4 separate regions of the Homo sapiens genome follow, and regions 1, 3 and 4 are each linked to region 2. Evidence: promoter capture Hi-C in 16 types of primary human blood cells and fetal thymus (Javierre and others, 2016). All regions are on one chromosome and are shown on one strand. Each heading gives the region's core, a stretch centred on a gene start or on the middle of the fragment in contact. The rest is flanking DNA. Distances are from core to core; before and after follow the strand shown. Region 1 holds the start of SRP72 (signal recognition particle 72). Region 2 holds the start of FIP1L1 (factor interacting with PAPOLA and CPSF1). Region 3 overlaps PPAT (phosphoribosyl pyrophosphate amidotransferase). Region 4 overlaps SRP72 (signal recognition particle 72).

Region 1 (6,692 bases), core at 1,852-4,351, 3.1 Mb before region 2:
AGCATTGCCTCTATTTCCCTTTTATTTTTAATAAAGTTTACAATTAATTTTTAATCTCTAACACATTTATACGCCTCAAATATAAAAAGAAAAAGAGATACACTAAGAGGCTTTATTCCCACTGCTACCCAAATCTAACCTGTTCCTATTACCTCCTACAAATGACTTTTTTTTTTTTTTGAGACGGAGTCTCCCCGTCACCCAGGCTGGAGTGCAATGGCACGATCTCAGCTCACTGCAGCCTCTGCCTCCTGGGTTCAAGTGATTCTCCTGCCTCAGCCTCCCAAGTAACTGGGAATACAGGTGCACACCACCATACCCAGCTAATTTTTTGTATCTTCAGTAGACATGGGGTTTCACCATATTGCTCGGTCTGGTCTCAAACCCCTGACCTCGTGATCCGCCCTCTTAGGCCTCCCACAAATGACTATTCATTGTTTCTCTTTATACTGTTTGTTTTGCAAATACAGGCAAATGCATATATAAATTTTTATATCCTCCTCCTCTTGTAAAAGGAAGTATAATATATATTGTTCTGCACCTTATAAACCAGTATCCCATTAATATGCTTCAAACTTAATTTCAATACATATTTTTTTGGAGCCTAGGTATAACAGTAAAGAAACTTCGACTGAGTTATTCTTGCTACATCCTCCAACGACTCATAATTATGCCCCACAACTCTCTATGGTTCACCTCCTTAGCGGTTCAAAGGAAACACAGTGGTTAAAAAAAAAAAAAAAAACTCTCTAAGGCTGAAAAAAACAGAAGTTACTAGTATTCCTTCCAGTTCAGAAACATTATTGACAAGCAAAAGGGGGGAAAAAAAGGAAGGAAAAAAACGTTAAAAAAAATCAGCAAATAGTTGGGAAAAAACATGGAAGAGATTATAGCTATAGTAAGTGTTTCTAATAACTGTACAAGCAACTAACTGAATCACTTACTTGGCTAACACTTTGGTGTGAGTATTGATGACATTCAAAGCTTCCTTGAAACTTCCATTCTGGATAAGGCATACCACTTTACAATGCAGGGCAGTTACGTCATCTTTGTTGATCTGTAGTACTAGAGAACAATTTTAGGAAAAGTCATTTTTAAATCCATTTCCTTTTCACATTTTTACTAAATTTTCCCACCCTGTCTCTCCGAAAGCTAAATTTCTACTTTTATTGCAACAGAAATAATTGGTCAGAACAACTGGAAGAAACAGCAACAAAACAAAACAAACCCAGAAAACAACTAATCTTTGCTTTTAACTTAAGAAGTGACAATAAGGAGAGTTATAGATTAAATTTTCAATGAGATAAAGATTCCCAATATACATGTACCAAAAAAGTGCAGTGAAATAAAGAAGAAAGAAGCAATTTCTCCAGATATTTCATCTTGAAATGCATGCTACATTCTACATAGTTCATTACTTCACAGGGAAAAAGTTCAGGTAGAATTTGGAAGCAAATGACCTAGGTTTGGTGCAAGCTTGCCACTAAATGCTTTGAGGTATTGGGCATATCACTTAACAGCCAAATCTCAGTTTTCTTAGCTACAAAATGATTAGAAAAGCATTACCTATTTAATAAGGTTACTGACAATATGAAATGAATATTTTGGAAAAATCTTATAAAGTATAATACAAAGGCAATTTATCTTGCTGGCAACGTTTCCAAAAATCATTAAAATTTCCCCTTTTCAACTAAGATGACCAAAGTATAAGGAAGAACTCAGGTGGCAAGTTTCAACGCTAACAACTGTTCGGTGTTAAAATGACCAGGATCATAGTTACTCTTGCTCCTGTGCAACTACAGAAGTCCAATTCTCAAAGAATCACAAGAATTTCTACCAATTAAGAAAACATACTGGTAAACAAGTTGACAATCTTTGCTGATTAAAGAATTCCTGCAAAATACTATACTAAGTATACAGTACTGGTTGGAAGGCTAGAGTTAATTCAAACAAATTTAGGGATCAAATAATTCTAATTCGTAGCTATTTTCCTCAATGTCTGAAATCACCAAAAGTGCACTGTGGGCACAATCACTACTTTTCACGTTAACCCAGTACTAGAGTGTTGAAAATTACTTAGATAGCTTTGCATGTTACTGACACACCTTTTAGGTTACTGCTACTCTGAACAGCTAAGCCCTGCCTTGGTAATTACATTTCCAAATCTAACATGCACAGGCTGTATCTTCAGTAGAGAAGAACTGCGCACCACCGAGAACATTAAGCAGCATGGCCATATTCCAGGTATGTAGTAAGGAACAAAAGAATATGATGAATTAAACCTCACACCAAAGGCGGTAAAAACCGAAATCATCCCTTACAGGGCAAAAAAACAGGCCAAACTTTTCTTCCGACATTATTTCAAGTGTTGGTGCTTCCACACACATATTTCCTAACTTAATAACACTGAAGAGATCTCATCTATGGGAATGACAGGCCTGACATCCAGATCCAGCCCTTTCCTCTCGCCCCGTAGAACCCGTACAGCTTCCACCTGGTTAGCACCAGCCTCTAAACTACGTGTCCCAAGCAGGTTCCTCCCCCTTTAGCGGCCAAAGAGAACAAGCTCCCTCAGCAATAGAGTCCTGATCACTGCGCTCAAGACGAAGAAGAAAAGGAGGCACTTTGGAATATTTGTGAAATAAAGCAGCAAAGGAGTCAAATAAGAAAACAGTTTGAAATGGACTCCGGGAGCTGCGGTCTCTTTAAAACCTTCCCTCGCTTCCCGCGGAGGGTAAAAAGAGAAGTACACGTGGCTGTAAGCAACCAGGGACCCCAGGCTGGCCTGGTGAAGCCGAGGAGTGAGACCTGCGTCTTCCGGGCGCTAGGGCCCGAGCCGGGCGGACAATAGACGGGGGGGTTTCGGGGGTCTCCCCTTCCCGTGCCTCCCGCGCGAGGTGGTCTCGCGCGCCGGAAACAGGCCGCATCCTCCAGCCGGCCTGGGCCCGCCCCAGTGCCCACCCCGACACTTACTCTTATTGACGGTCTTGAGAGCGCGCGTGAAGTCGCCGTTCTGGCCATACCGGTTCACTTCACTCCACAGCGCAGGTACTGACACCCCCCCGCTGCCGCCGCTCGCCATCTTGGAGGAGACGAGGGGCGGGGCGGGGAGACCTCTGCCCCGGAACAGGATCTCCGAGGCAGCCAAGAGGAGGAGGAAGTCGATGATTGCTAAGCGTCGCCGAGTTGGGAGTGTCTTCAGCCCTAAGGCAGCATCAGAGATCATAATCTTCTGCTCTCGTGGCAAGAAATTTGTGCGGATAGAGTTGATACACCTCACTTGAAGTTGGCCTGGAGAAAAGAGGCGTCGGACTCCTGGACGGGGTTGGGAAACGGTCACCAGTTTCGGCTCAAAGCAGCCTGTTTCCAGGAGACCGCCATGGTCGAGGCAGCGTCCTGGTCCCACGGTGCGGGGCCGGACGATCATTTATGGGATATAAATAAAAGGACTATGAGGTGGTAAATAAAAGACTACCAACTAGAAGCCATAGGGAGTCATTTGAAGGAGAAATAGGCACGGCTCATCTGTGGTTGAGGGAAAGGGATCTTGAAAGATGATTAGGAGAACTTGGGTTCTGGGGAAAGTGCGGGAAGACATTCTGGCAGAGAAGCAAACGTGAGGAAAGGTAAGAAGGCAAGAATCTCCCATTACAAAGGGTTTGGTGAAACCCTTTGCCTGTCCTTTTCGCTCCCTTCGGGAGCAGTCGGCAATAAGCTGGAAGGGTAATGGGGTGAAAATGCCCGTGGTCAGTTCCCTGGCTCTGCGACTCACTAGATGTCTGACAATAAACAAGTTACTTAGCTTCTGGGAGTCTGTTTTCCCGATTGTGAAATGGGGATACTATATTTGTTCTAGAGATATAAAATATTAGGGTTTGCTTGCGACCGTTAATATCAAGATGTGTTCAGATGTACGAAGGGAATGGATATCTGTTGGGTACACTTGATGTGAGTGATTTTTTTTTTTTTTTGAGACGGGGATCTTGCCGTGTTGCCCAAGCTGGTCTGGAACTCCTGGGCTCAAGCAATCCTCCCACCACAGCCTCCCCAAGTGCTGGGATTACAGGCATGAGCCACCACACCAAGACGATGTGAGTGATTCACTTGATGTGAATGTTGTATTTCATTGAATGGCCTGCTCTTCAGACTCATATCTCGTCATGACCTTTACAACTTCTACTACTTCCTGTGTCCCTCAGGAACCTAGCTTTTTTTTTTTTTTTTTTTTTTTTTTTTTGAGACGTAGTCTAGCTCTGTGACCCAGGATGAACCTCACTGCAATCTCCACCTCCTGGGTTAAAGCGATTCTTTTGCCTCAGCCTCCCAAGTAGCATGAGCCACCACGCCCGGTTAATTTTTGAATTTTTAGTAGAGATGGGGTTTCACTGTGTTGGCCAAGCTGGTCTCAAACTCCTGACCTCAAGTGATCCGCCCTCTCTCAGCCTCCCAAAGTACAGGGATTACAGGCGTAAGCCACCGTGCCCGGCCTTGCTAACTACTTTTTGTCTTTCAGTCTTTCTGGTTATACGTTGAAAGTTACTTTGAGGAAACATTTGATCTTGCAGACTGGGCAGCCTTCTGGTTGCATCCTCTTAGAACAGGGGTCCCCAACCCTTGTACTGGTCTGCAGCCTGTTAGGAACCGGGCGGCACAGCAGTAGGTGATCGGTGGGCCAGTGAGCAGTACCGCCTGAGCTCCTGTCAGATCAGCTGTGATATTAGCTTCTCACAGCTCAAACCCTATTGTGAACTGGGAATGTGAAGGATCTAGGTTGCTCACTCCTTAAGAGAATCTAATGGGAAATGTAATGAGCTTGAATCATACTGAAACCAGCTGTCCAACTCCTGTGGAAAGATTGTCTTCCCTGAAACCGGTCCCTGGTGCCAAAAAGGTTGGGAGACTCCCTATAGGACTCCACTTCTGAGCACTGATAATTAAGGGTTATCTCACTCTGTATGGACTATAGTTCTGAGGCCAAGGAACCATATTTACCTTGCTCACTGCAGTATCCCTAGGATCTAGCATACTGCCTGGCACATAGTTGGCATTTTTTGTTTCACATTCCTTGCCTAATCTTGAGTTCCTTGAGGGCAGAAACTGCCCAGCTCCTGATATGGCATATGGTGCCCTGCCATATTTTTGTCTGGTCCTTCCAGTATATACAATGCAAAGAGCATGAAAGGTGGCTTGAACTCTAGGTGCTGGAGGGTGTAATTCTTGTGAATTAGTAAAAATCATGAGAAGAGCTTTAGACTTTTACTGACTAGAATTGTCACAGGTTTCAAGCCAGTTATGTTTAGATTTCAGGGGGTGGGGGCTCCAGATGACATGGTATACCCAAAATGTTGTGTGAGAAAATTGGGTATACCCAAAATTTTGTTGTATTTTGTTATTCTGAGAAAATGTAGATTCCACTGTATTCTCCAAAGGTGTTTATATCCACCATCCCCTCCCAAAAGTTAAGAGCCACTGTCCTAGTAGTACTTTTTAGAACATTGACTTTATATAAGAATTGGCAATTTTCGTTTCTATATCATTCTAATCCTATATACTTTGTAGCTTTTAGAAATGCTCAGAATTCTGCTGCTGTGGACTTGTTTCTATTTCTTATGTCATTTTAATGGAGTTTTGTGGCAAACAGCCTATAAATATGGGGCTTAACCTGCCATTTTTGAAACAGGAATCTTCCAAACCATAGTGGTGTTTTGTTTTTTTTTTTTTAAATAACAAATTTACATCTCACATTGTGAAGGATGGAAAGATTGTCTGGTGAGGGGCCACTCTGATTCATAGATGGCATCTTCTGTTTTCACATGGTGGGAAAAAAACCAGACTGATCTCTTAAAGCATGTATCTGATGCCACTTTCCTACCCTCACGATAAAATCCGAACTCCAAAGAAGAGCAGTAAGAGCTTTTGTGATCTGGCCTCTGCTTGCCACCTCCCCAACTCACATAGGTCTCTATACTTATTTCCTAGCCCCCTTGCATGCTATTCACCTCTAACTTCCATGTAGTTATGTGTCCCCCTACCTCCTGGAATTTGCATTTTTATTCATCTGACAAGTGTTTGTCTTGTATATGCCAGTGCCGTGTATTACACCAGTTGCTGTGATACAGCTGACAACAAAGAAGACAGCCCAGTGTAATACATTTATTTTCTAGTTGGGAGAGATGGGTAATAAATAAACATGTACTATGTTTGGTGGTAATAAGTTTGCTGAAGAAAATTATGGAAAGGTAAGAGAGATTGAGTATAGACTGTGGAGAATTAGTCTTTTTCATTCACAGTATACAATTGTTTTCTAGAGATCAGAGTCCTTCCTACTTTTGTGTATTCACAATACCCTATTGTTAATTCCATATTAAGACTATATACGGTGTTTTGAAATTGTCTGCCTCTGGAGACTTCCAAGATTCATTGAGAGCAGAAGGTTAATTTTGTTCATCTTTGCATTCCCAGGGTCTTATATATACATAATAGGCTGTATTTGTTCTCTAAAAAATACAGAACCAATAGGATATGTACAGATTATGAGAAATTGGCTCTGCAAAATGGAGGTGAAGTCCCACAGTCTGCCTTCTGCAGGCTGAAGGCCCAGGAAAGCCAGTGTAGTTCCAAACCCGAGGGCTTGAGAATCAGGGGAGGCAATAACGTTAAGTCCTAGTCTGAAGGCCTGAGGACCAGGAGCA
Region 2 (6,403 bases), core at 3,501-6,000:
TGAAGCTATTGATAAAGATTTGTATCAGTAACTGGATTTCAAAGCCTTATGTTACCGGTTTTGGTACACCATTTTCAGCAGTTTCATCTTCAATTCCAGATGGAGGATTAGCACTACAAACAACAAAAGTAAGTATACATGTCAGGCATTACTTTTCGGAAGTACAGATAGATTATATTAGTATTTCTAAGCTTTAATAAAGCTCCTAAAATTATTGTCTCCACTGGAGACAGTAATGGTAAAATCTGACTGTCTTATTCCGTTATTTCTAGTAACTTGCAGAAGACAAGTACTCAACATTGTAAGTAGAATGCAAATGCCAGGCTGGGCGTGGAGGCTCATGCCTGTAATCCCAGCACTTTGAGAGGCTGAGGTGGGTGGATCACGAGGTCAGGAATTCAAGACCAGCCTGGCCAAGATGGTAAAACCCCGTCTCTACTAAAAATACAAAAAAAAAAAAATTAGCCAGGCATGGTGGCGGGCACCTGTAATCCCAGCTACTCGGAAGGCTGAAGCAGACAATTGCTTGAACCCAGGAGATAGAGGTTGCAGTGAGGCTGCAGTGATCATGCCACTGCACTCTAGCCTGGGCGACAGCGTGAGATGCTGTCTCAAAAAAAAAAAAAAAAAAAAAAAAGAATGCAAATGCCTTCACAGTTTATTAATGATTTATAATTTGATGGTGGGCTATAATTCAAGCTTTTTACACATTTTAAAAATATATGACAAACTTAATCAATTTTAATTATCCTAAATCAATTTGATCTTTACAGTGGCATTTTATAGCACAATCACCAAATAAAGCAAAATGAAAGATAAAAAGTCAAAACATAACTGTTATATTTTCATTGTTCTACTGCTTGCTTCAAGAAAACAAATATGCAGCTATAATTGTTCAGTACATTTACCTCCTGCTGAAATAAGCTTCTAGGTAGCCAGAAGCAAGTCCCATTTGCTTTCTACGTCACAAAACAGTATCCCTTCTTTAGTCAAAACTTGGATAGATATAACACAATTGGAGACTGCAATGCAATGTTTAAGAAAAACAGAGGCTTCAGCAATGAGCCAGTCAGTAGGAAACGGGCAAATTCTAATAGCAGGAACTTTGGTAGAGCAATGCAATGATGTACCAAGCCAGATAGCAGTAGGTCTGGCAGAGTACCTTTCTTCAATAGGCCTACTCTTTTGGAAGTTTTAATTTTCTATCACCATTAAAATGTTAGAAACATGATAAAATTTTAAGCTTTTTCTAGAAAAATAACACTGTAAAGGAAATTGTTTTTTCCCCCATAGGATGAAATCAACTCAACGGCTCCCCAAATGAAGTTGCAGAAAGGAATATAAAGCTATGTTGACAGTGACACTCAGGGAAGGTAGAAGGTTCCCTCCAATAAATTTTAGCAAGTTGTGTATTGCGGAATTAAAATTAAAGAATGTTTGATTAGAAAGTAAGCTTTTAAAATTGTAACCAATAAAAATAAAAATTAATGGGATAAAGATTATCATATAGAAAAGTATATTTGATTGTAAAACTATACCTGTAATTAATTTCTTGACCAACTGAAGGAATGGGTACAAAGAAATATTCAATCACTTTCATAACATAAACTAAAACTAATCTCAACTTTGTGGTTGAGATCAGAATTAGGAACTGAGTTGAATATATAAATTTTAAAATGAAATAACATTTCAGATAATATACCAATGAGTGAAAAGACTATAGGGGATTTTTTGGGTAAGGAAGCTGAACTGTAGTTTCAGCTCCTCCTAAGCTATTTCTACTTCCATTTCTCACTTTTTCCCTCTATCCATTTTTTGTTGTAACAGCTTTGAGATGCAATTCACATATTATACAATCTACCCATTCAAACAGGACAACTGAGTTTTAATATGGTCACATAGTCCAACCATCACAACTATCTAATTCCAGAATGTATGCATCACTCCCAAAAGGAACTTTGTATACATTAGCAATCACTCACCCAACTCTTAGTAACCACTAATCTGTCTCTACGGACTGACATCTTTAGCTTCCACATTTGTAAGGTTCATCCGTGTTGTAACATCTACCAGTACTTCATTTTATTGTCCTTGCCAAATAATATTCCGCTGTATGGATATAACACATTTAATCTATCCATTCATCAGTTGATGCAGCTGCGAGGTTTTCTTTTTCCACTTTCTATTAAGAATAATGCTGCTATGAATATTCACGTACAAGTTTTTGTCTGAATATGTTTTCATTCCTCTAAGGTGGAGGACTCACATGGTAACTCCATGTTTCACCATTTGAGAAAATGGCCAGGCTGTTCTTCAAAGCAGCTGCACCATTTTACAATCCCACCAGAAGTGTATGAGGGTTTTATTTCCCCATATCCTCACTAACACCTGTTTTATCTTTTCGATTGCAGCTTACTCGGTATGAAGTTGTATATCTTCCACTTTTTAAACCCAAATATTCCTTAAAATCTTCTAACTACCTCTCCCTCCATTACAGACACTAATGCATGTGGTCAGGGTAAAGCCGACATCTCCATGTACTTCTTTACATGGCTTGCTTTTTGAAATCTGGGGTAAAATTCTGACTCCCTGTATATGTTCTATAAATGAACACTTACATCTTTCTTACAATCTAACAAAGAAATCAACCTTATAACAAATCAGCTAATTACATTTTGAATGCAAACAATACATAGCATTGAAATTACAACCAAACTGCCATTATATCATCAAAAATGTTAATAAACTGGAAAAGCAGTAGTTTGGAGTGTTCCTGATTTACTTAAAAACATTTTCAATTAAGTTAAAATATTTTTATCAGTAGCTTAACGATTATACTGTATACTTCACTACTGAATTCACTTAAGAGTAACAAGTTACTTAACAGTGTAAAATCAGTCCAATCCTAAGTTCAAAAACTTTGTCCTTTAAACTACCAACAAATAGAATTGGCGTAAGATTAGGTCCTGAAACTGGAATAATCCTTAAAGGATTCAATGTCCTCCAAAATGTTGTAAGTCAGTGTTGTAATGAAGCCAATGATTGTAAGAAAATAATTTTGACAACTGACAGAACCATTGTTTCACACAACCTGTGTAATAGGCATCAACAGAAAATTTCACTAACCTGGCATTTTCTTCTTCTGGCCTTTCAACTTCATTTTCATCTACCAAGTAAAATAAACAAATAAATAAATAAGCAAACAAAATAAAGAAACCACTCTTAAAGAAACTAGTATTATGAAAATCTGAAGTGATCATCACAAGCACTAACCTAGGTCCTTTGCCAAATCACTGTGCACATGCACGTCCCATGGGCCTATAAGCACATCCAAAGTTAGATCACCTTATAATTACTTAACAAGATACTTATTTTATGGAAAAAAAAATCAGACTTTACTGCTATAAAAATAAGCTTAAATTTAAGAGGTAATGAAGATTTCCAGATCTTTGTAAAAGAAATCCTACACATTCACATTTCAAAGAGTAGTAACTAATGCTAAATCTTGCCACCAAACGATTTTTTTTTACAAGTTTATCAAAGTCACATCATCAAGGACCTGCATGGTGCCCAAAGTGCACTTTTACTATTCTATTCTAAAGACAATCAAGAATATATGTTTTAGGCAAGGAACAAACATTAACTTTCAAATCTGGTGTTAACAAGCAAGAAGGGATTGTGACTTAAAGTTAAAAACCAGATGTCAAACAAGTACCCTTCTAGAGAGAAGTACATGATGCATTAAATTTATTTTGAGAAAAACAAATACATGAGATGACACTGAAAACTATAAGCCGAAGGGTCATGAGATACCTCCATGATGTAGGTTAAACGGTAGTCTCTTAAAAAAGAATAACTTCACCTTAATACAGGAGACATTCAGAGTTTTCTTTATGGGCCATCTTTCTCTCTCTCTCTCTTAATTAATTATTTTTAAAGCACGACTTTCAGACAAGGAGGTACCCTTGCAGGTGCATTCCATACAAACTGACCATCAAGAAACAAGACGTTAGTTGTACAGCATTAACTTTATTTAGCTATTATTACAGAATGACTGTTTCTGAAAGAAGGGACAGGAAGGGCACCCTAAGGCCACAGGGCAAAAACAGACACCAAAAACCACCACCTCAGAATCGACAGAAAAAAACAAGGGTAAAGAGCGCAGCAGCTAGGCGATCGAGACGCCTCGGGGAAAGCACAGCGAAGCCGGGGGCCAGGACCGGTCACAGCCCCCCAGCCCGGCCCGGCCGCCACAGGGGTGGATGCGCATGGTGGGCGTGGGCCAGGCGGGAGACCGCCGCGGGGACTGGGGGCACGCGCACGCCGCGCTCGGCCTAAGTCAGGCCGGACAGGACTCCCAACCAGAGGCCCGAAGCGGCGGCGCGAGAGGCCAGGGACGCCGGCCGTTTGAGGGCCAAGAGGGGAGGCCTGAGAGAACCCGAGAGACAGAGACAGGAAGTTTCGTACCGCCATAGAGCCACTCTTCCTCCTCATCCCCTCCGGTCCCGCCGCTCAGCTCCGACACTAGGCGCTCGACCTCGCCGGCCGACATGGCCGCCCCGAGCGCAACTTAAACGCGGCGATCAACAGCCCCCTCCAACCCCTTCCCCAGCCTCGCAGCCCCGAGGCGCGAGAAGGGCGCGAACCCGCCGACGAACGAACGAAGAAAGCTCGAGACTCCAATCCCAGGAAGGCGACGGCAGCGGCGGCAAAGATGAAGCCTCCAGCGCAGGTCCGTCTGCGCATGCGCAGGAGACCCAAGCGGCGCGGCGCGTATAGGTGGCTTCGCTTCCGCGGCGGCCACCTGGGCCTGGTTGCGCCTGCGCGCTGAGGTGGGCCCCGCCCCTCTAGGATCCCGGTTTGCTATTTTGCGTGGCTTCCTCCCGTGGCGTCCTGAGTCGGCCAGGGTTCCCCGCCCCCACCCTTCTTTTTAATAACCCGTATTGCCATTGCTGGCGAGTACACCATTGTTCCCTTCTACTCTTCGTGCTCTTTCTTCTCAACTTTTTATTTGTTTTTTAATCTTCAGAAAGGCCTTCTTTTATTCTTTAATCAGCCTTGATACAGAATCATTACCTGTCACTCCCTTTCCTCACTGAATAGAGAAGAAATCACAATCAGTACTATTTCTCAAAAAATTAATTTTCACAGCCAACAAAAGCAAAACTAATAGATGAAGAATGCACTCTCCTTGTTAAAAACCATAAATTACTGTCAAGGTCAAAGACCGCCTCATTCCCCTACCCTTCTCTCCGGAGGTAGCCCTTGCTACAGATGCATATCCTGTTTGGAGTTCATCATTCCGAAATTTCCTATACACTTACTTCATGTGTTGTGCTGTTTTGGTGGGAGAACCTGAGATTGACAAGTCTTAAATAGTACAGTACAGTATAGTATCATCCTTCGACTTCCTTTTTTTTCTTTTTTTTTAGCATCCGTGTCTTGGAGCTCTTTTTCATTTTAGTATGAATCAAACTATATCTATTTTAAGTGCTTCATAAAATTGCATAGTATGGCTATCACAGAGTGAATATGGCTATTTCTCCATTGATGTACACCCAGATTGCTTTTGACTTTACACTTTTAACTACAACAAAAAATGACAATGAAGATCCACACGGCTCCTTGCAGATTTGTCTGTTTCTCAAAGATAGATCATAAAGTATGTACAGTTTTTATTTTAATAGGTAAACCAAATGTTCAGGCCGCTTCTGAAAGCACATCTTCCAGTGAAAAGATGACATACCATGGTTCAAACTGGAGCTCTAGGTTTGTCTAGGTTTTTTGTTTGTTTGTTTATTTATTTGAGGCGGAGTCTCACTCTGTTGCCCAGCTGGAGTACAGTGGTGCGATCTCTGCTCACTGCAACCTCCACCTCCTGGGCTCAAGCGATTCTTCTGCCTCAGCCTCCCAAGTAGCTGGGATTACAGGCACGCACCACCATGCCCAGCCAATTTTTGTATTTATAGTAGAGAGGGGGTTTCACCATTTTGGCCAGGCTGGTTTTGAACTCCTGACCTCAGGTGATCTGCCCACCTTGGTGTCCCAAAGTGCTGGGCTTACAGGCATGAGCCACCACGCCCGGCCTGTTTTTTTGTTTTGTTTTGTTTTGTTTTGTTTTGTTTTGTTTTGTTTAAAAAACAGTCTTACTCTGTAACCCAGGCTGAAATGCAGTGGCAGGGTCACTGTTCACTGCAGTCTCTACCTCCCAGACTCAAACAGTCCTCCCACTTCAGCCTCCTGAGTACCTGGGACTACAGACAAGCAGGTGCCACCACACCTGGCTAATTTTTTATTTTTTGTAGAGACAATGTCTCACCATGTTGCCTAGGCTGGTCTGGAACTCGTGGTCTCTAGCAATCCTTCCACCTAGGCCTCCTAAAGTGCTGGGATTACATGTATG
Region 3 (6,683 bases), core at 2,431-4,930, 3.0 Mb before region 2:
ACCTTGTGTGCAATGATTTCTTTCCAAGGTACACATTCGAGTAGCTTCACCACCAATTAAATATCCATGCTTCATGGGAATAAACATTCCTACAAAAGAAGAGCTCATTGCCAATAAACCAGAATTTGATCACCTTGCAGAATATCTAGGTAAGTATTAAAATTTCTATAAACTTTGATTATTAACAGAGAAAATCCAAAGCTTGACAGTCTTTACACCTTTAGTAAAAAGGAGTATTCAGTGTTTGTTAAAAGTAGTTATATATGTTAAACAGATATTGAATACTATTCTCAACAGTGAGAGTAGTGGGCATGGGCAGACACCACAGAGTCTTGTGTTGGAGAGCTAAGCCAAGGTGAGATCAGAGAAGGAAGAGGTGGTTTCCAGGTGGAGGGAAGTGCAATCATAATCACTTAAAGCCTCCCAAAAGTCAGATCCCAAGAAAAACAAAAATAATTTAATCAGATTCTAACAGAGTAATTTGGATGTGGATACAAATCACAAGGTAAAAAGTTTGTGTAGGTTCATATTCAATAATGAGATAAGGAGACTTCGAGATCTAAGTTATCCTGGGTAAGACATCTTCCTTTCAAAATCAGGTGATGTATAAACTGTGGAAATAACACATGATATTTAGTCATTGTGCCTTGGTACCTCCACACCATCTGTTTGTGGCTGGTGTTTCTTTTAACCTGTCATGCATATGCCTCACTGGTTAAATATTTTTAAATATCACCCTGATGGGTGTCATACATGTTATAAGCACTCACACTTTGCCAGAAACTATGCTGCCTATATTATCTATATTATCATAAAAACTCTACATTTAGGCAATGTTTCCACCATCTTATATAGATGAAAAAATAGACTTAGGAAAACTGAGTGAACTTGAGCTTAACTTTGAGCCTAGATCTTCCTGACTTTAAATTCCATTTTTTCAATTAAGAAAATTACTCCCAAAGCCCTCTAATTCCATTCTAGACTTGAAGCCTCCTCTGCTGTTTTAAATTATGTTATCCCCTAGATTCCAATTAAAATTTTTAAAAATAAAGGAACTGAGTTTTATTGATTTTTTTTCCTTTTTTTTTTTTTTAAAGAAAGGCTAAAGGAGAAATTTATCCTAGCTTAAATTATTCTGTTTGTAACTATTCTCTGTTGACGCGTTTCTTCCTTTCTAAAGGAATTCTTATTACATTTTTATTTTTCCCTCTTTCTTTAGGAGCAAACAGTGTTGTGTATCTGTCAGTAGAAGGACTGGTTTCATCTGTACAAGAAGGGATAAAGTTTAAAAAACAGAAAGAGAAAAAGCACGATATTATGATCCAAGAAAATGGAAATGGTCTGGAATGTTTTGAAAAGAGTGGTCATTGTACAGCTTGTCTCACTGGAAAATATCCTGTAGAATTAGAATGGTAGCTGGTAGGGTTGGATGTGTGTAGTTTCAAGATAGAAAGTTGGTCAAGAAGTTATAGTGGTCACACCTCATCTATTTACTGTTACTCAGTTGGTACAATGTAAAATGCCATGCTTATGTTTATAAGTTTTGAGATTTTTTTTTTTTCTGAAAAGGATACCAAAGTGCGATAACTGAACATTTCCAATTGCATATAATACAACAATATGTGGTGTTCTTTTTTTTACACAAGCATTGGCTAGCCTTTTTAACCTGGTCAGAGAAGGCAGGTGGTCACTGACATTTCCCAAGTCCATGCTTTAAAGGGTTTGCAAGAAGTTAGGGTTAAGGAGAGGTGATGCCAACAAGACAGGTGAGTTAAATATACCATTTCACACAAAGTTTGAATAGAATACATTATACCTCATAGGTGTCTAGCCTCTACAGTTCTGGCTGTAGTTATGACCTTGGCTTCCCTGTCTAACTGTAGACAAATCTTTAAAAAAAAATAATAATAATCTGGTGCCTCAGTTTCCCCACATGTGCAATGGGATACTTATTAAATAATTAATAAGAATGTGAATAAGTGTCATACTTTTGTGATTTGAGCCATCATTTCACTTCTGATTTTAAGACAACTCATGATTGTTAGCTTTCAGAAAGCTAATGATTGTTAACTTTTTGAAATTAGTTTACAATTAATTAAGATTTCATTATGATGGAAGGAGACATAATTGGCAGATCTTTGCCATCTCTCTTTGAGATGTCCTAAAAAGGGTTGTAAAAATCTGTGAAAAAGTTTTTCCTACATTTGACTAGAAAATGTGATCCATAGTATTTAGTGCCCTGATACTATAAGCTCAGCAAGTAACCTGGTACATTTGAAATAAAAACCAAATTTTTAGATTCAAACAATCCCTTTATCCTTAATTTAATTAATTATCATATGCTTTTTTTAATGAAGTGCTTGATCACTTGCAAACATATATACATGTAGATGTACATATACATGTACACATACACATAAATATTATTGCAATTAAGTGATCAAGTACAGACACAATAGGGGCCAGTTTTGTTTAAGGATCAAAGAGACAACCACTTTGGGGAATTAGTATCAACTTACAATCCAAGTCCAAGTATCATCTTATAATCACTTTTTTCTACTATATTAAGATCTAATGAATTTGATTTCTTTTTTGAAGTTTTTTCTTGTAACATCTGAGATTAGAAGTTTAAGATGACTTGACCCCAAACCTTTGTTTATGTAAGAATTTTTAAACATAAAAGTGTTTGTTTCTGTTATGTTACCATAATTTGATGTATATAGTGTCCAGATCCATTTAGAAATTTAATATTTATTAATAACTGAAACTGTTTGTCTTCCTTTGGTATATAGTCTCGCATATTATATTATAGCAGGCCAAGATAAAATTTTGACAGCTCTTTAAGCCCACATGCAGCAGTGGGTCAGATAACCCTGTGGCAGTGACACGGGCAAATTGGCATTTGAATAAAGCCCTGGGACCACCTCAACATGCGTAGCCTCTTGTCTTAAATGTACTCCCCATGGCAGCATGGAGGAGGCAAGACCTGTGGGTCAATTTTGAACTGGCCTTACTTTGATTTTTAAAACAAGAGACTCAGGGAAAGTACTAAACCAAAATCTCTGATTTTACTTTGCGTTTTCTGTAGTTTTTGTTTTACTGAGATGCTTTTGTAAAGGAAAATAATACTGTGACAGTTTAGTAATTCTACAGATTCTTAATATTTCTCCATCATGGCCTTTTACTTCACAATTTTCTGAAGTCTGAATTCAATTACAATTTTTTTTTACCAATTTAATCTCAAATGTTGTTTAACTGCTTTAAATTCATATACGTAGAGTATTATAAACTGCAGAGATGAAAAATGTGTTTTCACGGGATTTATATTGTGAACTAAACTAAGCCTACTTTTTGTGACTTATTTGTGATGCCTTGTTGATAAATATGTGTAATAAGTATGTTTAAATATGTGTGTCCTTTTTTTTTTTTTTTTAAATAGTGACTTTAGTTAGTGCTTTATGGTAAACAGCATGGAGACAACTTCCAGGCTCCATTCTTGGCACCAGCTAGTCATATCTTATTTCTCTGATCCAGGCATTTCAATAAATAGGCCATCTCTTATGAACCAGGCAAAACTGCTGGTTGACTATGAGGGACAAATTAAGTAATTAGAAAAGCAGTACTAAGTAAGCACTACATCGTGGCAAGTTCCTAGGAAGCACTATGGGGAAAGAGGGAGTGTCATGGAAGAGCAGGATTAGATTCAAAGTGTCAGGGTGGGTAGGTAAATGAATAGATAAACTGTAGTACATTCAGACAATAGAATATTATTCAGTGCTTAAAAGAAATGAGCAATCAAGCCATTAAATGACAGAAGGAACATAAATGCATATTAACTAAGTGAAAGGCACCACTCTGAAAATACCACTCTGAAAATATTGAAGGTATCCAAAGAAAAAGTCTCCCATGTTAAGGATAAACTGGTCACAGACAAGAAAGATTACTAGTAGGGCACCTGCCAGTGTTAAGAAAATTTCTGTGCAACTAGGTAAACCTTGGTCGCTGGACTGGATCTTTAATTCTTCTAGGTTCCTCCAATCCAACTTTCTTCCATAGAATTACTAAAAACGAGACTTGCTATGTTCTTAAAGCCCAAGCTCAAACTTAACTGAATTTTAAGGGAGAAATCTCATGCCCAAAGGTTCACAAAACTGCCCAATGCTATAACCAGAGACATTAAAACTGTAAACCAGAATGAAAAGCTAACATCTCCATACTGTGGGCAGCTTTTCCCAAGATGATGGAACATAACTCCCCATCCTAATGACACTCTTGCCCCTCTTAATTCTTCCTTGTTTATGCCTACCTCTTTGATTTGGCAGGATAATTTCACAATCGGTAGATATTGTGGGTGACTTGACAGAATCTGACTTCATAAATCCTTTAGTCCACCCAGGGGGTAATACTGGCAACATCCTCAGTAAACTTTTTGTTCAAATTGTACTAATGGTCTTTTTTAAAACAGAGTTAGCTCTCTCTGCTTTAATTCAAGCCAGTCATGGAATGCTAAGTAATAGGATTGCTGTGTACCAGCTAAACAAAGAGATGTCTGTGCTTTTGCTCATACTACATGCTGTACCTGGATACATTCCTTTGGGGAATTTATATACACAAAATAAGAAAATAGCCCACATGGTATAATAAGTCTCACCTAATTCTTCATGATCATTTGATTTATTCAACTGGTTGTCTTTAAGCCTAGGTTCACGGCTGAAAACTATTATGCTGAGATTGTTACTTTGTATTTTCTTTTTTTTTTTTTTAAGAACTTTATACCTGTTTCTTGTCAAATTTGCATAGAAATGCAACTCCTAAGAGAATAATGCTCTCCCAGCACTTTGAGATGATAGACAGTGCCTATGGAACAGACAGAATTGAACTTAACAGTGGACTCCAGGTAGACTTAGCCTGAGATCCACTCCCTCCAAACCTCTTTTGTTGTTCAAATGTGGCTAAAGGGTTTTGATGCTAATTCCTAGTTACCAGTGACTCCCTTCAACATGAGGGCAGACTGGCACCAAGAGATATCAAAACCTAAATACAGGATGATTGATCAGTGATGCTTTTGAGAAAGACCTTGATCAAAAGGGGAAATGTGAAAGTTGTCAGATTCAAAATGGAGTCACTCGTATTAAAACCCTGGCAAACGGAGCCAGGAAACGCCATGAAGGGGAAGGGTTCTCATGTACATATGGTTGATAACAAGAACTATCAAAAGACTACAAAAATTTACAACCTGCACAAAGGCCACCACAACCTTAAACACAACACACACACACACACACATACTTCTGCAACGACATCTGCCTAGCAACTGCCTATCTAACTTATGGACTGACACCACCCTTACCACGCTTGTTATTGTTAAAACAAACAGTGAGGTTTATTTTTATTTATTTATTTATTTTTTGAGATGGAGTCTCACTTCGTCACCAGGCTGGAGTGCAGTGGCGCAATCTCGGTTCACTGCAACCTCCACCTCCTGGGTTCAAGTGATTCTCCTGCCTCAGCCTCCAGAGTAGCTGGGACTACAGGCGTGTGTCACCATGCCAAATTAATTTTTATATTTTTCAAAGAGACGGTTTCACTGTATTGGCCAGGATGGTCTTGATTTCTTGACCTCGTGATCCACCTGCCTCGGCCTCCCAAAGTGCTGGGATTACAGGTGTGAGCCACCACCACTCCTGGCCTTCCAGTGTACTTCCATAGTTACATATTCTTTCCTCGTGCCCTGTGAAGAGGTGCCTTCCACCATGATTTTAAGTTTCCTGAGGGCTCCCCAGCCATGTGGAACCGAGTCAATTAAACCTCTTTTCTTTATAAATTACCCAGTCTCAGATATTTACTTAAAGCAATGTGAGAACAGACTAATACACCTGTCAAAACACCAAGCCTGAAAAACTCAACCACTAATTTGCTCTCTGCCTTCTCCTGAGCAGCTGAACACTTAGAGTAACTCACACAATGCCTTATTATCCCAACTGTGATATGTGGTACAACAGCACATAACAGGAGGACCTAACCTTGTTTCAGGTAGGGTCAAGGATTTTCCAAATTATTTTTGAACTTTTTAAGGAAACAATGACATTGACAACTGAGAGATAAGCCTTAAAATAAGTAGAGTGTGCCAGTCAAGGTACAAAATATCAGCAGGGTACAGGGTGGGCATTTGATATTTCCCTGCAACTGGAACAGTGTAAGTGGATGGAGCTGAGTAAAAAAAAAAATAGTTTGGGAAACAAGCGCCTAAGACATGAATCCCTGCTATAAGGGTGCTATTTAGTATAGGAGGTCAGATTTGGAAATAATGCAGCAACAGTAACAACTGATGCTGTAAGAAATATATGTCGCTGTCTGGGAAGGGTCTGGTATTGAAACCTATTTTAAAGTTAGTAAGATAGCCTGTTAACTGTTTTATGGCAGTAAACTTGGATTCCTGGGTGACAAAGAACTTTGTAATTTATGGCAAAAGCAGAAGCCAGAACTTCATGTTTATGCATTTTCCATGTCCCCCAAGTCCCACCAGGATGGTGAAGATGGGCTTCCATGGATGTCTGCACATGCAGTCAGTGGGTTACATTATAGGAGAGGAATACTGAGTTTGGGGGATTCCATACTTTTGTAGTTAAGTGGAAGCAAGCCTACTCTTTGGGAAGAATACTTCAGCTATGAAACTGATCATC
Region 4 (6,299 bases), core at 3,284-5,783, 3.1 Mb before region 2:
TTGCAGCCATTGCTTATTTCTAATAACTTAATTTGGATCTGGTATACTAAAAAAATGCATTTGATAATCTAAATAGTATTCCACTTTTAAAATAGTGACGTGTAATACTTGTTTGCCTGAATTTTTTCACTACTCCATCTTTATTTTTATGTAAAAACATGCTCTCATAACATTTTACTCCATTTATTTACCTGATGGTTTTGATACCACTGGATAGCTTGTGTGAAGACCTCAATGGCACTATCAATATCTTCTTCATGGCTATACATGGTAACTAATGCAGATACCTACACAGCCAAAGGTATAAATTAGTGAACTCCCCCTTCACTCCCAGAATACCGCTTTTGAAAATAAAAAACGCTGAAGAAATAGCAAATAAAGGCTCTCCGCTAATACCTGATTTATCATAAAAGCTACTCCCTTTAGAGAACATAGTTAACTTTACTTCTAGAAATACCATGAACAACCGTGTTTTCCAAATATGAAGGTAGATATCTGTAAAATAAAACTTTCCTTTAAAGCAGTGCCAGTTCACAAATGGTTTGGTAAGTACAGAAGTTGAGAATAAGCCCTTAGAAATGTTTCTACAATAAGACACTGCTGGACATTTAAGTGTATGATCAGTGAGGCATACATAGAGCGGCTGAACTCTCATGATGAATCCCATGTGGCATGAGCTGTTTGAAGCCAGTAAAAAGGGTGCCTGGTGTGGCTGAGGGACAGGAAGGAGGCCTACATAGCTGGAGTGGAGGGGGAGGGGGATGCTGAGCAGTAGGAGATGAGGATAGAAAGGAAACAAACAAAAAGCTGGATCTTTAAGAACAATCAGTAAAACTGATAAACCTCTGGACAGGCTAATCAGAGGGAAAAAGAAAAAAATACATGAATAACCAATATCAGGAATGAGAGAGGTTCTATAGATATTAAAAGGACAATAAAGAAATAAAATGAAGAACTTTTATGCCAATAAAGTCAGCAACCTAAATGAAATGGATACATTCCTTGAAAGGTAAAAGGTGGTCATATATTAAATATTAGAAACATTTTATTTTCAGTCATATACTGTATTTGACTCTAAGGTAAAGTAATTATAGCACGATCCTTAAAATATGAATCTTTAAGGGAAAGCACTACCATATTACATTTACTGAGTGCCAACTGCACAGAGGCCATGAGAATGCAAACATGAATAAAACAGCCCCTGTCCAAAAGATGCACATACTACCACTACAGAATTAGTTTCTACTATGGAAAAGATGCTTTCACAGCTGTATTAATGATTGAAACCTGCAATATTTGAATAATCAGAAAACTAAAAACTAAATTTGTTGGCCACAATTATGAAATTGTTCTAATTTAAAGAAATCACACTGACGAAAATGATATAGGCTAAGAAATTCCTATACAGATCTGAGATTATTTGAGGTTGGTTTTCAGTGATACTATAAGGCCTAAATAGTGCCTGGCACATTTGACTGAATAAGAAACCAATACCAGAGCAGAGAATGAAATTAAATTTATACCAGACAACTATTACTATTATAATTACTACTCCTACCTTAAAGTGAATACACATTCGACATATAAATAAAGTGAATACACATTAGACATACAAATTATCAATTCAACTACTTTTCAATTTTGTAATTTTTAAAACTCACCATGCCTGGTTTATGCTTTAACTCCTCTATGCTTCTCAATATTAGACATGCTTTAGAAATATTACCTTAGGAGAATAAACAAAATCAGCATTACATAGAAGAACACATATTATGAAAAAAAAATACAAGAAATTTTACTTCCTCCCACTACTTTTCCTTAGGAAAGCAACCATAACTCATGTTTTGTAACATCGCTAAACATATAAACTTTGGGGTCTTGGGGATGGTGAACTCTGTTCATTTAGAGATAAGGAAATTGAGTTCTAAAGAAATAATATACCTTGCTTAAGCTCACAAAGAAAGTTAATGGCAGAGCTGCTACCAGAAAAGAAGTCTCCCAGCTCCCAGTCTGTTGAGTTCTATTTCTTCTTTTTTGGGCTGTAACTTGAAGGTGGGGGTCCTTCCCTAAAGGCCTTGAAATATGTTACTGTAGACATGAGTGCAATGGAAAATTTCCTATGGTGTTAAATTCTGATTTTGTATTCACTGCAAACCTCAATAACTCAAAATTCCCAGTCTTTAAAAACAAACAAAAAACCATGACAGATTGTCAGTAATTTCAAGATAATAAATAATCCTTGAAAAAATAAACTAAACATAGGAGGAAAGATCAAGTAAAGGGCAAGGAAGAGAAGACAGGGCTGAGGAGAAGGAAAAAGAGACAAGGAAAGCAAAGAAATGTGAGAATTGGATAAGAGGGAGATCAGCAGTGTGTCTCAACCTTATTTTCATTATTGCCCTACTAAGGACATTTTAAACATTTTTTCCCTAACTGCCAACTCCCCTCCTTCAACTCATAAAATTTTCATTTCAGCCACTGTAATATTTAAGATTTTTGTGAAGAATTGTCACCACCATTGAAAATCCACATTCTATACCAGAGCTGTTCGACAGAACTTTTTGTGATGATATAAATGTCCTATATCTGTGCTGTCCAATATTGTAGCCAATGGCTGCATATAGCTACTAAGCTTCTAAGATGTGGCTAGCATAATCAAAGAACTGAATTTAAAATTTCATTTAACTAATTTAAACTTAAAATAGCTGTATGTGGCTAGTGACTACCAAACTGGGCAACATGGCTCTAGATATTCAAAGTTAGATGAAAACCACAGACAAAAACATTGGCAGTTTTAAGATTCAAACACATCAGTTCTCGTTAAATTCTATTACCTTTCCCCAAGCCCAAAGACATAGGTGGCAAAGTGTAAAATGAAGTAAGGATGAAGGGCCAAGCTAAGAAATTCTGAAAACTATGATGCAAAGTAGTCGTACAAATATTACCAAGTGACGGACATAAGCATTTCTGCATGTGACATACTCAGGCAATTTGAGTAGTATGTATGGTCTTTTGGAAGAGAGGAATCCTTTGCTTCAGAACTTTCAAGGCATAGATTAAGAATCATTCTAATAATTTAGGAATAATCCACGAAAAGGGGCAACTACCTCACTACTAAATCTGTTGGAGATCATACAATCTAGCTGCATGTTTGAAACAGTAATTATTATGCTTTACTATTACACAAAAAAACTTAAAATCACATAGTTCACAACTGCTTAATCATTCCAAACATGTTTTCATTAAAATATTTTAATCATGATGAAAACCATAATACCTTGAGAAATTTTCAACTGTGCCATGGTCAGCTTAATTTCAGCTGCATTTTCTGGATGCTGATCTGAAAATTCCTAAATTTTTTTAGTTTGGGGGAAAAAAATCACATTTAATTTACACAACTAATTGTATACATTACAATTACTTAGCTACATAAGATTTTAAATCCAGTTTTAAAACATTAAACTTCTGGCTGCAGGTCAAAATCTTAACTTGGGGAAATTTTTATTCAACACTCACTTTTTTTCTTAAAGGTATGCTCTAAAAGTAAGTGCAATGAAGTCAAGTTTTCTGTAAGTCACTAACAGAGAAATCCATCATCCCTCAGCCACAGGGTATTACTTCCAGAACCACCCCCGATTCCAAAACCCAAGGATGCTCAAGTCCCTTATATAAAAGTATAGTATTTGCGTATAACCTACATACATGCTCCTATACATTTTAAATCATTGCTAGGTTACTTATAATACCTAATACAATGTAAATCCTATGTGTATAGTTGTTATATTATCTAGGGAGTAATGATTTTTAAAGTTTGTATATGTTCAGTACAGAGGCAGTCATACATTTCCAACCTCAAAATGTGCTTTTTTTTTCTGAGGCGGAGTCTTGCTCTGTCACCCAGGCTGGAGTGCAGTGGCGTGATCTCGGCTCACTGCAACTCCGCCTGCCAGGTTCAAGTGATTCTCCTGCCTCAGCCTCCCACGTAGTTGGAATTACAGGAATGCGCCACCATGCCAGGCTAATTTTTTGTATTTTTAGTAGAGATGGGGTTTCAACATGTTGGCCAGGCTGGTCTTGAACTCCTGACCTCAGATGATCTGCCTGATTGGGCCTCCCAAAGTGCTGGGATTACAGACGTCAGCCACTACGCCTGGCGACCCCCACAAAATGTTTTTAATCCATGGCTGGTTGAATTCTTGGATGCAAAACTCAAGAATACAAAGGGTCAACTATAATAAAGATTACTAAATAGATTTTTTTTTTTTTTTTTTTTTGCTGTGGGGAGAGAAGGGGCGGTGTCTCTTCACTGAGTGTCCCTGTTAGGCAATTTTGTCTGTCAGGATGATCCTAATTGTACCTGTCCAACTTTCCAATGTAGTTTATATTCAAGAAATTTAAATATGCAATATAATAGCTGGTTTGGGTTGATAAAAACAAAGTCAGTATCTCCATAATTGAGGTTCTGGAGTAGAACTCACTGGAGATCAGATTATTGCAAAAGAGGTTAAGTATGTTCTGGAATTATACATGCCTAAATGATCCCCTAACTCAGGTTAAACAGATCTCCAAACAAAACAGCATTCTTCAGCATTTATAACAAATATTTACATTATAGAAATTTATATAACACAAAGAAATTTATATAAAGCTCTGTAACCCAAGAGTTAACTAAAATGACAATGAAATTTGTGTAGTGGTACATTTCTGATTAGTTTTCCCATTAAATTTACATGCTAGTAGGTTATTACAACACAATGAAAATGAAACAAAGCTGCAAATGTCTGACACCTCATTCAAGTAATTATTTTACCTGAAGCAGCTCTATTGCTTTTGTGTGCTGCTTTTCACGGCAGAGCTGGGCAGCTTGGATTAACACAGGTAAGAGATGCTCGGGACTTTGGGACTGTAAACTGGCAGATATTTTGCGGCATTGTTCAGCCTAGAAGATATCCAACCCCCACAAGAAAAATAAACTGGTTAATGAAATTAAACACTAAATGACCAGAAAGAAAAGAAACATGGGAAAATCAGTTGAAACAAATATTAACCAAAGAACTGCCTAGGGTAAGAGAATCAGTTTACAGTATCTATTCTCAATTTTTTCTTGTAAGAAAATGGTTTCCATTTATTGAATTTAATCTATGAGCTCTAAGAGTCTTTAGTAAAGGAGAAATTCTAAACATTCACTTGGATGCCTAAATTCTAGAACTGTTTAAAAAAATCAAACACATCAAATATAAGCATTTGCTTCAAAAACAACAAAATGCATATATGTATTTTTTGCTACATTATTAAGAATAACTTGACTCAGTTCTAAATAATAAAAACATTACTGTCTCTCGGCCGGGCGTGGTGGCTCATGCCTGTAATCCCAGGACTTTGAGAGGCTGAGGTGGGCAGATCACGAGGTCAGGAGATCAAGACCATCCTGGCTAACATGGTGAAACCCCGTCTCTACTAAAAATACAAGTAAATTAGCCAGGCGTGGTGCTGGGCGCCTGTAGTCCCAGCTACTCGGGAGGGTGAGGCAGGAGAATAGCGTGAACCCAGGAGGCAGAGGTTGCAGCGAGCCGAGATGGCACCACTGCACTCCAGCCTGGGCGACAGAGCGAGACTCCATCTCAAAAAAAAAAAAAAAAAAAAAAAAATTACTGCTTCTCTGTCTCCCACTAAAACTTCTGCTCTAAAACAGTATAAAATTAGAATTAGAATGCTTACTGGAGTTAGAATTGACTTCCTTAACATTTATAACTTGATGTGATTATACACAGCAAAAATGAAAGATGGGTCTTAAATCTATAATCATGGCTAGCATCTTTGATGATTTTATCTTAATTCAGATTAGAAATAAGGTAATGAGAAAGTTATCTCATTTAAAGGTGTGAATACTGTTTTCTTCCCCTTAAAAGGTGTCAACCCTACACCCTTATAAGAAATTGGGCAAATTACTTGTTTAATAAATAAAATCTATGACACATAATATTCTTTCTTTTTTTTTTTTCTTTTTGGAGACAGTCTCTCTCTGTTGCCCAGGCTGGAGTGAAGTGGCACAATCTCAGCTCACTGCAAACAATTCTTGTGCCTCAGTCTCCAGAGTAGCTGGGACTACAGGCATACACCACCATGTAGAGACAGGGTTTCACCATGTTGCTCAGGCTGGTCTCGAACTCTTGAACTCAGGCATTCCGCCCACTTCAACCTCCCAAAGTGCTAGGATTACAGGCATGAGCCATTGTGCCCAGCCAATAATATATATAATATTTTGAGGAAGGCAAAAAAATATATTTATGAGTTGAAGA

Evidence for each region. Contacts are between HindIII fragments. The CHiCAGO score rates a contact against its expected background, and 5 or more counts as called.
Region 1: the fragment with the promoter of SRP72 here is called in contact with the fragment with the promoter of FIP1L1 in region 2 in 2 of 17 cell types (non-activated CD4 T cells and neutrophils); the score reaches 9.7 in non-activated CD4 T cells.
Region 3: a fragment that was not itself captured here is called in contact with the fragment with the promoter of FIP1L1 in region 2 in 1 of 17 cell types (naive CD8 T cells); the score reaches 5.7 in naive CD8 T cells.
Region 4: a fragment that was not itself captured here is called in contact with the fragment with the promoter of FIP1L1 in region 2 in 1 of 17 cell types (neutrophils); the score reaches 6.3 in neutrophils.

What each region holds. Positions count from the first base shown.
Region 1 is chr4:56,464,026-56,470,717 of GRCh38, reverse strand. It overlaps SRP72 (signal recognition particle 72), which reads right to left and starts at 3,101. Exons shown (of 19, transcript NM_006947.4): 1 at 2,974-3,101; 2 at 945-1,065. The coding sequence starts at 3,082. LOC124900706 (a long non-coding RNA gene) reads left to right here and starts at 3,160. Exons shown (of 2, transcript XR_007058126.1): 1 at 3,160-3,626. PAICS (phosphoribosylaminoimidazole carboxylase and phosphoribosylaminoimidazolesuccinocarboxamide synthase) reads right to left here. Exons shown (of 9, transcript NM_001079524.2): 9 at 6,140-6,692. RefSeq lists an enhancer at 3,047-3,256. The HindIII fragment of the contact is 5,513 bases long and covers 1,479-6,692 here.
Region 2 is chr4:53,375,988-53,382,390 of GRCh38, reverse strand. It overlaps FIP1L1 (factor interacting with PAPOLA and CPSF1), which reads right to left and starts at 4,750. Exons shown (of 18, transcript NM_030917.4): 1 at 4,468-4,750; 2 at 3,274-3,318; 3 at 3,127-3,166; 4 at 56-113. The coding sequence starts at 4,552. LOC105377654 (a long non-coding RNA gene) reads left to right here and starts at 4,651. Exons shown (of 3, transcript XR_007058118.1): 1 at 4,651-4,732. RefSeq lists a silencer at 4,173-4,262 and enhancers at 3,935-4,483, 4,423-4,542, 4,593-4,682, 4,484-5,032. The HindIII fragment of the contact is 4,469 bases long and covers 3,417-6,403 here.
Region 3 is chr4:56,390,085-56,396,767 of GRCh38, reverse strand. It overlaps PPAT (phosphoribosyl pyrophosphate amidotransferase), which reads left to right. Exons shown (of 11, transcript NM_002703.5): 10 at 29-149; 11 at 1,220-3,406. The coding sequence ends at 1,416. Among named protein-coding and RNA genes, the nearest start is that of AASDH, 5.9 kb to the right of the region's middle. The HindIII fragment of the contact is 6,954 bases long and covers 204-6,683 here.
Region 4 is chr4:56,483,376-56,489,674 of GRCh38, reverse strand. SRP72 (signal recognition particle 72) reads right to left here. Exons shown (of 19, transcript NM_006947.4): 10 at 4,811-4,939; 11 at 3,278-3,350; 12 at 1,662-1,726; 13 at 192-287. Among named protein-coding and RNA genes, the nearest start is that of SRP72, 19 kb to the right of the region's middle. The HindIII fragment of the contact is 3,798 bases long and covers 2,635-6,299 here.